Regions from separate parts of the Homo sapiens genome. Here all the other regions are linked to region 1. Evidence: promoter capture Hi-C in 16 types of primary human blood cells and fetal thymus (Javierre and others, 2016). All regions are on one chromosome and are shown on one strand. Each heading gives the region's core, a stretch centred on a gene start or on the middle of the fragment in contact. The rest is flanking DNA. Distances are from core to core; before and after follow the strand shown. Region 1 holds the start of PHF3 (PHD finger protein 3). Region 2 has its middle 71 kb from the start of LGSN. Region 3 has its middle 93 kb from the start of PTP4A1. Region 4 has its middle 90 kb from the start of LGSN.

Region 1 (2,728 bases), core at 70-2,569:
CCCAAGTGAGAATTAAAAAAAAAAATTACTCATTTCTATTTTCCTTTCTCAAAAACACATTACAAAAAGATTGTAAAACAAAGTCTTGAGGGATTGATTAGTCAAGACAGGGGGTGAAACTCTTAAGAATCCAGTGGAATCAGGACAACCCAAACTTCCTTTGTAGAAGAGCATTTGCTATTAAGAGTGCTTAAAATATCAGAAGACTAGAGAGAGGAAAGAACAGATCTTCACCACATGCCTGTGACTTATTCTTCCACCCTGCACTAATCTTACAATGTGGGCTGCGGTTGGTCTAAAGCTTAAATCAACAAGTACTGTAAAGGTTTTAGAACAGTGCAGACCACACAGTAAGGTGCTCAGCAGGTACTGGCTGAATACTGTAATAGTCCCTGTAGATAAAAGCCACAAACCCTGTCCCTAAGTAGCTCCTTTTGGTTGGAGTGACTGACAAGCAACAATTACTTCACAGCGCTTATTAAGGGCTGAGATAGGGGTTAGCTCAAGTGTCTGTGGAAGCAGACCAGTGGGTCTCAAACTTTTTTTGTCTCTGGACCTCTACACAATATTTGTTACCACAAATAATGTATTTATGAAAAGCATATTTTCCAAATTAATAAAAGGGTGATATCTAAAATTTCTGCAGATTTCCTCAATGTCTGGCTTAATAGAAGATGGCTGGATTCTCTTATCTGTTTCTGCATTGAATCAGCTGCTATATGCTGTTTTGGTTGAAGGGTGGGAAGAAAATTTGGCCTTAGACACATGCTCCTGGCAAAGGAATGGAGGCTCTACTGAAAGGTCTTGGCGACCCCTCAGGGAAACCTGGGACCACATTCTGAAGACTGCTTACTGGATACCAAGAATGTTTCTTGGAGGTAGCAATTTGAGTCCTGAGGTAGATCAGCCATGTAGGGTGAGGGTAACGGAGGTAGTTAATGGTAAGGCTGCTGTGCCGAGCCAGCACAGATATTTGGGCAGAGGGCTCATCTACTCCATCCTATTCTACCATTCTTGAACTCACAGTCAATTAATAAAAAGTACCTGGGGTTGGGGAGCTGCGCATCAATATTATATTAACTGTGAAGCCTTAGTGCTTACTACGGTCGAGAAAAAGCGCTCCTCTGATTCGCCCCTCCCGGCGGCGCGGAGGTGTGAGCTAGAAGCCCGCAGGCGGTGCCGCGTCCTCCGAAGACAGGGAGGGGCGCGGCAACGCCGGGAAGCGCTGCAGCCCGGGGCCCCACGGAGGCGCGGCGCTCGAGGCCCTAAAGCGCGCAGGCGCGGCAGCGACGCAGGCCGCGGCCCCCGGAACGGTAAACAGTGGGGTCACGTGACACGGCCCCTCTCCAGCTCCCGCGCCGCCGCCGCACGCCGATGGCTGCGGGGTCTCGCGCCGTCGCACCGTCCCCACGCGGCAAGCGACCTTCGGGCTCAGGGCGGCGGCGGCTGCAACGAGGATTAGGAGGGCGGCGCGGAAGCCAAGAATAGTGTCGTCAGCAGCAGCCATTTGGTCCCAGGAGGAAAAGAGGCTGTGGCAGCGACGCCGACGTCCTGCGCGTACCCCCTCTCCGCGGCACCCACCGGGCCCCCTCCTCCTCCTCTTCGGCGGCGGCAGCGTCCACCATCTTCCTCTTGCTGCCAGTGGTAGCGCTCGTCTGGCGGAGCTGGGTGAGTTGCGGCTGTGGCCGCGGCCAGGGAGACGGGCAATCCTCCCCTCCCCCATCCCCTTCCACACGCACAGCGCCTCCGCGGGCCTCTCCGCCCCTCCCGCGGCGGACTCTCCGCGCTTTTCTCCCGCGCAGCCGAGAGATCGCCTCTCGGGCCTCTTGCGCAACGTCCTCGGCCTACCTGGGCCGCGCCGCTGGCGCCTGTGGACCATTTGGACCGCGGGCTGGGGAGGGAGTCGCAGCGACGCGGTCGCCAGGCGGAGGGTCGGGACCACGGCCTCTCTCCCGACCACTGGTACCCAGCCGTCTGCTGCGAGGGCGCCCCGCCGCCGCTGAGGCGCGGGCGCGCAGGCCCGAGGCACGGCGGGCGCTGCCTGGAAGGCCCGTCTCGCAGGCCCCCGGATCCGGCCGTTGGGGCCTCTTCCTTCTCAGGGAGCCCCAGCATGGAGCTTTGGGCCTTGGTTTCGGGAAACTGGGACTGGCCCTGGCTGCTAGGCTGCTCCCTGCTGCTGCTTTTTGGAGATGAGAGTTGCTCTTCCATTTATCCTCCAGTTACCGCGCGCTTTTGTGCCCGGGACTCAAACTGTGGACTCCTTTTGCTTAGTTTGAAATGAGAAGCCTAGACTCTTGCCTTCCGATAATACATGTAATTTAATGAACCACTTGTCGATACGTACGTGTTAATGGTGCTAAATAACTGATCACCTGACACGGGGGGCGGGGGCGGTGCGGAGAGTAGAAAGGAAGAGAATGTTGATATCGCGCACGGAGTCCTGTGTCCCTCCTTTCCCTCAGGATGTGTTGCCGGGTTAGGTGACCTTTTTCCATCTTTGGGCTTTTAAATGCCAATTCCTAGAGACTAGATTGGGGTGGTTATTAGTGCTTTCCAGTAGTCACGCGTAGAATATGTTCATGGATTAATGTTAAGTGGCAACACTGCTTTAATATTCTAGTCCTAATCTGCATTACATGTAGCGATATTTAATTTAAAAAGAATAATCGATTATTGAGGCTTCTCTAAATACTAACTTTACTATCTTATTTTAAGCTAAATTTAAAAA
Region 2 (2,761 bases), core at 81-2,580, 240 kb before region 1:
TGGCTTCTGTTTTGAACAATGGTCCTGTGTAGTTTCACTTAAATCTTATCTGTATACAAAACTCTTGGTTGCCACTCTGTGCTGTGAAACTGCTACATGGTTGCATTTCAATATTAAGTATGTAAGCCAGTGAGTAAACCAAACCATGATAGTTCATGAATCTACTAATGGAGACGATCATATCAGTACTATTATTCCAATACAGAAATTCAAAGGTAGTGCATACAGAAATAGAGATCATAAAATGCAGTCATTTTAAATTATTTTTTACACTAAAAATAATTTAGTCATTGTGCTCCAGACATTAAGTGCATTAATGTACATGCTTCAAAGTTTATCTCCTTTTTCTCTTCCTCCCCCATCCCCCACAAAAAAAAATGGTGAGAGAAAATTTTCTAGGTCTAATCTAAGCCTAAAGAAAACACACCTTTTGTGAATGCTAAGTAGGGAGATGTAGAAAATGAAGAGAAAAGACTCTAATGGTCTCAGAAACTGTATAAAGAATAATTCTACAGCTGAAGTATTTGGACACTTTCTTTCTTTCTTTCTTTTTTTTTTTTTTTTTTTTTTTTTTTTTGAGGCAGAGTCTCGCTCTGTCACCCAGGCTGGAGTGCAGTGGCGCAATCTTGTCTCACTGCAACCTCCTTCTTCCAGGGTCAAGCGATTCTTGTGCCTCAGCCTCCCAAGTAGCTGGGATTAAAGACATGCACCACCACTACTGGCTAATTTTTGTATCGTTAGTAGAGATGGGTTTTCACCATGTTGGCCAGGCTGGTCTCAAACTCCTAACCTCAGGTGATCCACCTGCCTTGGCCTCCCAAAGTGCTGGGATTACAGGTTTGAGCCATTGTGCCAGCCGGATTCCACAAATTTTGATCAACTATTATTTTCTTAGAATGCATGACCTATTGCCAAATTCACCACTTCATTGTCAGATTTTTTTTTATCAACAGGGAGGAGATTGTTACACAGGAATTGAATTTGTTTTATTGAAAATTGGAATCGGCCAGGCGCGGTGGCTCACGCCTGTAATCCCAGCACTTTGGGAGGCCGAGGCGGGCGGATCACGAGGTCAGGAGATCGAGACCATCCTGGCTAACACGGTGAAACCCCGTCTCTACTAAAAATACAAAAAAAAAGTAGCCGGGCGAGGTGGCGGGTGCCTGTAGTCCCAGCTACTCGGGAGGCTGAGGCAGGAGAATGGCGTGAACCCCGGGGGACGGAGCCTGCAGTGAGCCGAGATCACGCCACTGCACTCCAGCCTGGGCGACAGAGCAAGACTCCATCTCAAAAAAAAAAAAAAAAAAGAAAAGAAAATTGGAATTGAATTAGTTCAGATAATATCCTTAACTTTCTTATCTCTCTCCATTCACTTTCAATTATTTGAATTATAACAAGTTCCATTGGAAAGGATGCATACTTTTACCTTCTCTTTGGATAAAAGGTAATCTGAAATAAATTGATTGCTTCTGTTAAATAGACAAATAGAATTACTAAGTATTATCAGATCTCAAATAGCTCTAATAGAATATGTACACAGGTAAGACTCATTTAGCATTATTTAAAATCTCGTTTTTAAAAAATATGATAATGGAGACAAATTTGCTATTAAATAATTTATTTGCAATGTATAAATGTCCTTAGCAGTCAATCCTATTTGGGTTTGAGAAAAACATGACATTTTCAAGTTATCTTAGTTGGTGTAGGTCTAAAGATATGGAAGGGAAGTAAGAACCAAGAGGTTGTGTCTTAGCAACTACTCAGCCAGCAGCTGGAACTGTAGCTCATTCAGAATACACAATGTAGAGGACTGATAGCAGCTCTTACACTCAACAGCAACATCTGCAAAGATCCATGCATCTGTAAACTTCTGTTGCTTTTTCTGACAAGGATTCCCAACTTGTAAGTGGGTTGATTTCAGTCTCTGCTTGTACCTCTGTATCCTCCAACACTGTTCTCTCCACTTGCCTTCTCTCCACCTCAAGGTCTGTGTTAGCTTTTACTGTCTTGTGATTTCTGAAGCCTCAATGTGTCTCTAGTTCCTGCTCACTTAAGTTTCCCTCCAAATTCCCAAGGGAGATCTGCTTTACGGTTAGTCAACATCCAATATTGACCATTCTTGCTGGGCAGAGTTCAGTTACACTTCATGGGCTGATAGCGAGGCTTTTAGCTATCTCTGTCTCAAAGGTTAATCCTTGAACTAAGTCATTGCTGGTCCAGAAAAGCAGAAGTCACATGATGTAAAGCATAAGGGCCCTAGGAGCAGAGAAACACTCAGCTGTCTTTCATAGAAGAGGTCTTTGGACATGGAAGGACAATGAGCATGGGTTGACGCACAGAGCAACTTGGTCTCCTCTCCAGTATAAGTCTTCTTTTAAGGAATCAATGATATGAAAGTTTATTTTTAAAAATTACAAAACAACAACACTGGTTTCATCCTCCACCCCAAAATTCCAAGTAATTATAGTCATGTACTGTATAAAAACATTCTGGTCAACAATGGACCACATATAAAACAGTGGTCCCATAAGATTATAAAAGAGGAGGGGCATGGACCAGAAATCTGAGAGAGGTCAAAGACGCCCAGGCCAGGTGCCTCTCAGGTACTCATGTACTGATATGAAGTAGGAGGGGCGCAGTGCTAGAAGCCCCTTCCTCAGTGCTGCCAACCAGACACCCAGCCCATGGCAAACCCTGGCCTAGGGCTGCTCCTGGCCCTGGGCCTGCCTCTGCTGCAGGCCTGCTTAGGCCCAGCCTTGAG
Region 3 (2,793 bases), core at 146-2,645, 160 kb before region 1:
TAGTAAATTATTAAGCCAAAAAATGTTTAAAATGTATAAATGGGTAATAGACAAATCCACAGTGACAGAAAGTACGTTAGTGGTTGCCAAGGACTGGGGGAAGCACAGTGCGGAGTGACTGCTAATGGATACATGGTTTCTTTTTGGGGGTGATGAAAATGTTCTGGTAACTAAGTACAACTCTTCATGTATTGCTTTCCCTAATACTCCTGTGGGCCCTAGGACGTTCTGAAAAAAAAAAATCTAAATTTCCATCATCCACCCTAAATAAGTTGAGTTACATCACCCAGGTGGGGTTGTGAGAGGTAAGCTGAAAAGAAGTATTCTGAGGAACAAAGAGCCAAAAATAATCCCTAGCTGAAAATGCTGCCTCACCACCCCCATGTACGGCTCATTCTAATCATATAGACGATCATCAGTTCATCCTACTCTAAAGATTCAAGAATTTAAACTTATTTCCTCAAAGAAAACTGCAAATATCAAAGACAAGCTTGAGTAAATAATTAAGGTGTTTATTGGTTTATGAACTAGAAATTCAAAAGGTAGGGTGTGCTTTAAGGTTGGTTTGATGCAAGAGTTCAGTGATTTTATCAAAGACTTAATTTTTCCTCTCTCAGCTTTTCCTTCTACAGTGTCAGCTTATTCCAAGGTTTACAACCTTCATGATACCACAGTGGTTACAATGGTTCCAAGCTTACAGAGACGTATAAAAGGATACAGACAAGAGAGAACATGTCTTTCAGTTGTACTCTCAGAAGAGCCAAGAAACACTTTTCCCAAAAATCCCTTTATCCATAACTCACTGGTCTGTCTGGAGACAGGAGTCCATTTCTGACAGAGAAATGCTAACTTAACTGGTTAGATTAGACAACCCAGGCCTCAACCAATCACTGCATCAAGGGAGATGGGCTTACTGAGATTGGCTTTGGTCAATCACAGTCCATTTCTGGTGATCAACTGCTTTCAAAGCGTATCAGCAAGGGAGACCCAGATGAAAATTTAAGTACTCTTAGGCAGGGGAAAGGAAGTAATAGATGCTGGAAAGACAAACAACATTCACTATAATTTTTCTGGCCTATCGATGAAAATATATCTAGTAAAGTAGACAAAGTGAAGTAGGAGGTACAGTAACAACTTCTTTTTTTTTTTTTCTTTTCAGCAATGGAATGTTAGAGCTAAATGAAATCCTAAAATGTACCCAAGGCTGGGCTCAGTGGGTCACGCCTATAATCCCAGCATTTTCAGAGGCCGAGGCTGGCGGATCTCGAGGTCAGGAGATCGAGACCATCCTGGCCAATATGGTGAAACCCCGTCTCTACTAAAAACACAAAAAAATTAGCTGAGCATGGTGGTGGGCACCTGTAGTCCCAACTACTCAGGAGGCTGAGGCAGGAGAATGGCATGAACCCGGGAGATGGAGATTGCAGTGAGTCGAGATCATGCCACTGCACTCCAGCTTGGGCGACAGAGTGAGACTCCGTCTCAAACAAACAAACAAACAAACAAAAAGTGCTCAATTTGAACTCCTCATTTTATAGATGAAGAATCTGAGACTCTGTTTAATTGATTTGGCCATACTTACAAAGTCTAAATCACCTATTTCCTAATCATTCAGTCATTTATCAGCAATTGTTTATCAAGCACTTACTATTTGCCAGGTACCTCTCTAGTCACTGGAGATACAGGAGGGAATAAAACAAAGCAAAACTGTGCCTTCATGAAGTCCACATTTTAGTGGGGGCCTTTTCTCTAAGGTCATTACTCCCACTCACTCTTTACAACAACCCCAGGCACCCTGTTTCCTCTCTTAGTGCTAGGCATTCACAACCTGTGTTCCTTCCTTTTGCTGCTACCCAGCTCTCAGATGCAGCTGATGCCATGGGTTTCAGAGACCTGAAAAGCCCCACTGGCCTCCAGGTGCACAATGGTTACCTGGCTGACCAGAGCTGCAACAAGGGGTATGTGCCATCACAAGCAGACGTGGCAGTAATTGAAGCAGTCTCCAGTCCATTGTCCGGTAATTTGTGTCATGCTCTACATTGGTATAATTACATCAAGTCTTACGAAAAGGAAAAAGCCAGCCTAGCAGGAATGAAGAAAGCTTTGGGCAAGTATGGACCTGCTAATGTGGAAGATAGTAGAGGAAGTGGAGCTACAGATAGTGAAGATGACAATGACATTTATCTATTTGGATTTGATAAGGGGGAGGAAAGCAAAGAATCAAAAAGGCAAAGGGAAGAATACCCTGCATAGTATGAATCAAAGAAAGCCAAAAAAAAAACCTGCCCCTGTTGCCATCTTTCATCTCACTAGATGTGAAACCTTGTGATAATGAGACAGATATGACAAAATTAGAAGAGTGTCATTAAAAAGTCAAAAAGCAATAGATTTTGGCATGGATGTGGTGAAAAGGAAACACTTAACACATTGCTGGTGGGAATGCAAATAAGTACAACCTCTATGGAAAACAGTATAGAGATTCTTTAAAGAACTGAAAGTAAATTTACCATTTGGTCCAGCAATTCCACCTCTTGGTATCTACCCAAAGGAAAAGAAGTCATTATATGAAAAAAAAAAAAAAAAACTTGCACACATATTTTTATAGCAACATAATTACAATTCACAGCTGCAAAGATGTGGAACCAACCTAAGTGCCCACTGACTAATGAGTGGATAAAGAAAATGATATATATATATATATATATATATATATATATATATATATATATATACACACACACATACATACATACATACATACATACCATGGAATACTACTCAACCATGAAAGGG
Region 4 (2,725 bases), core at 40-2,539, 230 kb before region 1:
AACTTCTGGGCTCAAGTGATCCTCCTGCCTCAGCCTCCCAAGTAACTAGGACTGTAGGTGCACACCATCACGCCCAGCTACTTTTTAAAATATTTTGTAGAGACAGGATCATGCTGTGTTAACCATGCTCATCTCAGATTTCTGCCCTCAAGTGATATTCCTGCCTTAGTCTCCCAAAGCACTGAGATTATAGGTGTGAGCCACCACACCCAGCCAAAAATATTTTTTGTAATGTCATAAATACATGAAACACTTAGGGATATATCTCAACAAAGATGTTAAGTGTTTCTTTAGATTAATGTAATCTTTCTTTAGATATATTAATAACCACAAAATGTAATCTAGTCAGTCTATTCAGGCTTTTTAAGATAGTTTTACATATATCTAAACTTCTTGATCAAGTATTTTAAGAAATTTTTACATATATCTAAACTTCTTGATCAAGTATTCACTTTACACAATTGTTACAAACAACCAATTTATATTTTGCTAAGTTTTAACTATTTCTAACCATTATGGTAGTCCTTAAATACCAGATTTGGGGTCAGATGACCTTATTTTAAATTTCAGCTCTGACAGTTAATAGCTGTATAATTTAAGACAAAAATTCTGATATTTCAGATCTCAGTTTCTGCATTTATAAAATTGGGATAATAATACTTAATAGCTCAGATGGCCTTGTGTTTTTATACAAACAGACTTTTTTGCTACATGATTTGGGTCATGTTAAATATTTCTAGTCTTTAGTTATTACCTCAGCCGGGTGTGGCAGCTCACACCTGTAATCCCAGCACTTTGGAAGGCCGAGATGGGCAGATCACTTGAGGTCAGGAGTTCAAGACCAGCCTGGCCAACATGGCGAAACCTCATCTCTACTAAAAATAGAAAAATTAGCCGGGCATGGTGGTGGGTGCCTGTAATCCCAGCTATTCGGGAGGCTGAGGCAGGAAGAACTGCTTGAACACAGGAGGCGGAGGTTGCAGTGAGCCAAGATAGTGCTACTGCACTTCAGCCTGGGCAAAAGAGCAAGACTCCATCTCAAAAAAATTAAAATAAAATAAAATAATAAGGTATTACCTCATCTATAAAATAGTACCTGTCTCTTAATATGGCTATGAAGATATGACATAAAATATTTAAAATGATTTAGAATAGTACCTGGCACTCAATACATGTTATCCTTTATAATGTTCACAAAAACGGGTACAGGTTTGACACATACAAAGTTTCATAATGTTTGTGGCTATAAGTCTTGTTTCCTATTATCTATAATTGGTCCATTCTAAACTCAGTAAAGTGTACATATTAGTCAAAATGTTTTGACTTTTTGTAGACATTCATTTAATCAAAAGTGGGACTCTATAATATTATAAAATTGAGTAAAGTCTTTATGGAATGTTTATATTAATTTTTAGTACGACTCTGAAATGAGATACCTGAGATCATTAGTTTTTTAAACTTTATTTAGCAGCAGAAACTTTTTTCAAATAAAATCTTATTCAGATCAATATATAAATATATATCAATGGTATAAAGCCAATAAAAGTTTTTCAGTTGAACTATAAACCCACAAGGCTAACACAATTTGGGCATTTATTATGTGCTAGGTGCAATTCTAAAATTACACTAAAGCCAGTATTGGCTCTGGGGCTTCTTTCTTGGAACCATAAAGTGCAATGAACGCAGTTTAAAACCTGCTCCTTGGAAATTGTTAAGCTATTCAAGGACAAGAACCTATGACATGTGTTTTAACCAAGTATTTAGTATGGTATTGGGCACTTAATAGGTGTTGAAACAATTTTGGTGGACTTGAGTAGCACAGAAAAAGCTCATGAAATCTTAATGACCCCACATGCTGGTAAATGGTTGCTGCCTCATGCTCCAAACATACCACTTCCTCAGGTCAAAACCAGTTTTTTTCCAATTCCTAAGCAACGAGGTTTGGCATAAAGCTAGGCCAGAAATGTCAGTACAGGCTATTTCTTGGGGATATTTAGAGACACCTACTGAGTTAGTAGGAAATGTAAATTGTGCCTAAATTTATCAGGATTATTTCTCAGACACACAACTACAGTTCATCTCATCTCCAAAGTAGCCTCAGGACTCCAGAAATACTCCAAGGGCCTCTTCCTAAAATTGACTAGAAATTTTGCCAGCTCTCTAAAGAATAATATTGACTGTCCCAAAGATCTCTTGGTCAAAGTCTATATTCGTGATTTGGAATTTTCCCAAGCACCAGGAATTACGCTGTGAGCTAACATTTACGCAGACATTCTCCCAGTTACTTTCAGTTTTCGGTTTTGTTAGTTATCAAGTAAAGGGGATAGCAGGTAAGGAGAAAGTAGGCAAGGGCATCAGAGATAAGTTACACTAGGACATAGCCTTGGCTTGTGTGTCATCTTCTTTCTACATGCCATATCTCCTCCATTACTGAATTTTAAGATCTGTCCTTGAAGACAGAGACTTGATCTATAGTTCTATTGCGCTGCTCACACTATTAATGGTAATAATAATAAAATTAATTTTTATTGAGGCCTTATGAAGTGCTTAATATTGTGCTAAGGCCAGGCATGGTGGCTACACCTGTAATCCGAGTACTTTGGGAGGCCGAGAAGGGAGGATCCTTTGAGCCCAGGAGTTTGAGCTAACCAAGACAACATGGTCAGACTCTGAGTCTACAAAAAATAAAAAATATTAGCTGGATGTGGTGGTGTGCACCTGTAGT

Evidence for each region. The method cuts DNA at HindIII sites, captures the fragments that hold promoters and counts their contacts. A CHiCAGO score of 5 or more calls a contact.
Region 2: a fragment that was not itself captured here is called in contact with the fragment with the promoter of PHF3 in region 1 in 2 of 17 cell types (neutrophils and monocytes); the score reaches 6.0 in neutrophils.
Region 3: a contact is called between a fragment that was not itself captured here and the fragment with the promoter of PHF3 in region 1, in 1 of 17 cell types (non-activated CD4 T cells). The highest score is 5.3, in non-activated CD4 T cells.
Region 4: a contact is called between a fragment that was not itself captured here and the fragment with the promoter of PHF3 in region 1, in 1 of 17 cell types (monocytes). The highest score is 6.2, in monocytes.

Annotation. Positions count from the first base shown.
Region 1 is chr6:63,634,483-63,637,210 of GRCh38, forward strand. PHF3 (PHD finger protein 3) reads left to right here and starts at 1,320. Exons shown (of 16, transcript NM_001370348.2): 1 at 1,320-1,668. RefSeq lists enhancers at 8-545, 1,077-1,897 and silencers at 1,115-1,474, 1,915-2,094. The HindIII fragment of the contact is 3,030 bases long and covers 300-2,728 here.
Region 2 is chr6:63,389,571-63,392,331 of GRCh38, forward strand. It overlaps a transcript of LGSN not described here. Among named protein-coding and RNA genes, the nearest start is that of LGSN, 71 kb to the left of the region's middle. RefSeq lists an enhancer at 1-83. The HindIII fragment of the contact is 3,198 bases long and covers 1-2,761 here.
Region 3 is chr6:63,478,256-63,481,048 of GRCh38, forward strand. It overlaps a transcript of LGSN not described here and the pseudogene EEF1B2P5. Among named protein-coding and RNA genes, the nearest start is that of PTP4A1, 93 kb to the right of the region's middle. The HindIII fragment of the contact is 1,408 bases long and covers 692-2,099 here.
Region 4 is chr6:63,408,997-63,411,721 of GRCh38, forward strand. It overlaps a transcript of LGSN not described here. Among named protein-coding and RNA genes, the nearest start is that of LGSN, 90 kb to the left of the region's middle. The HindIII fragment of the contact is 5,935 bases long and covers 1-2,725 here.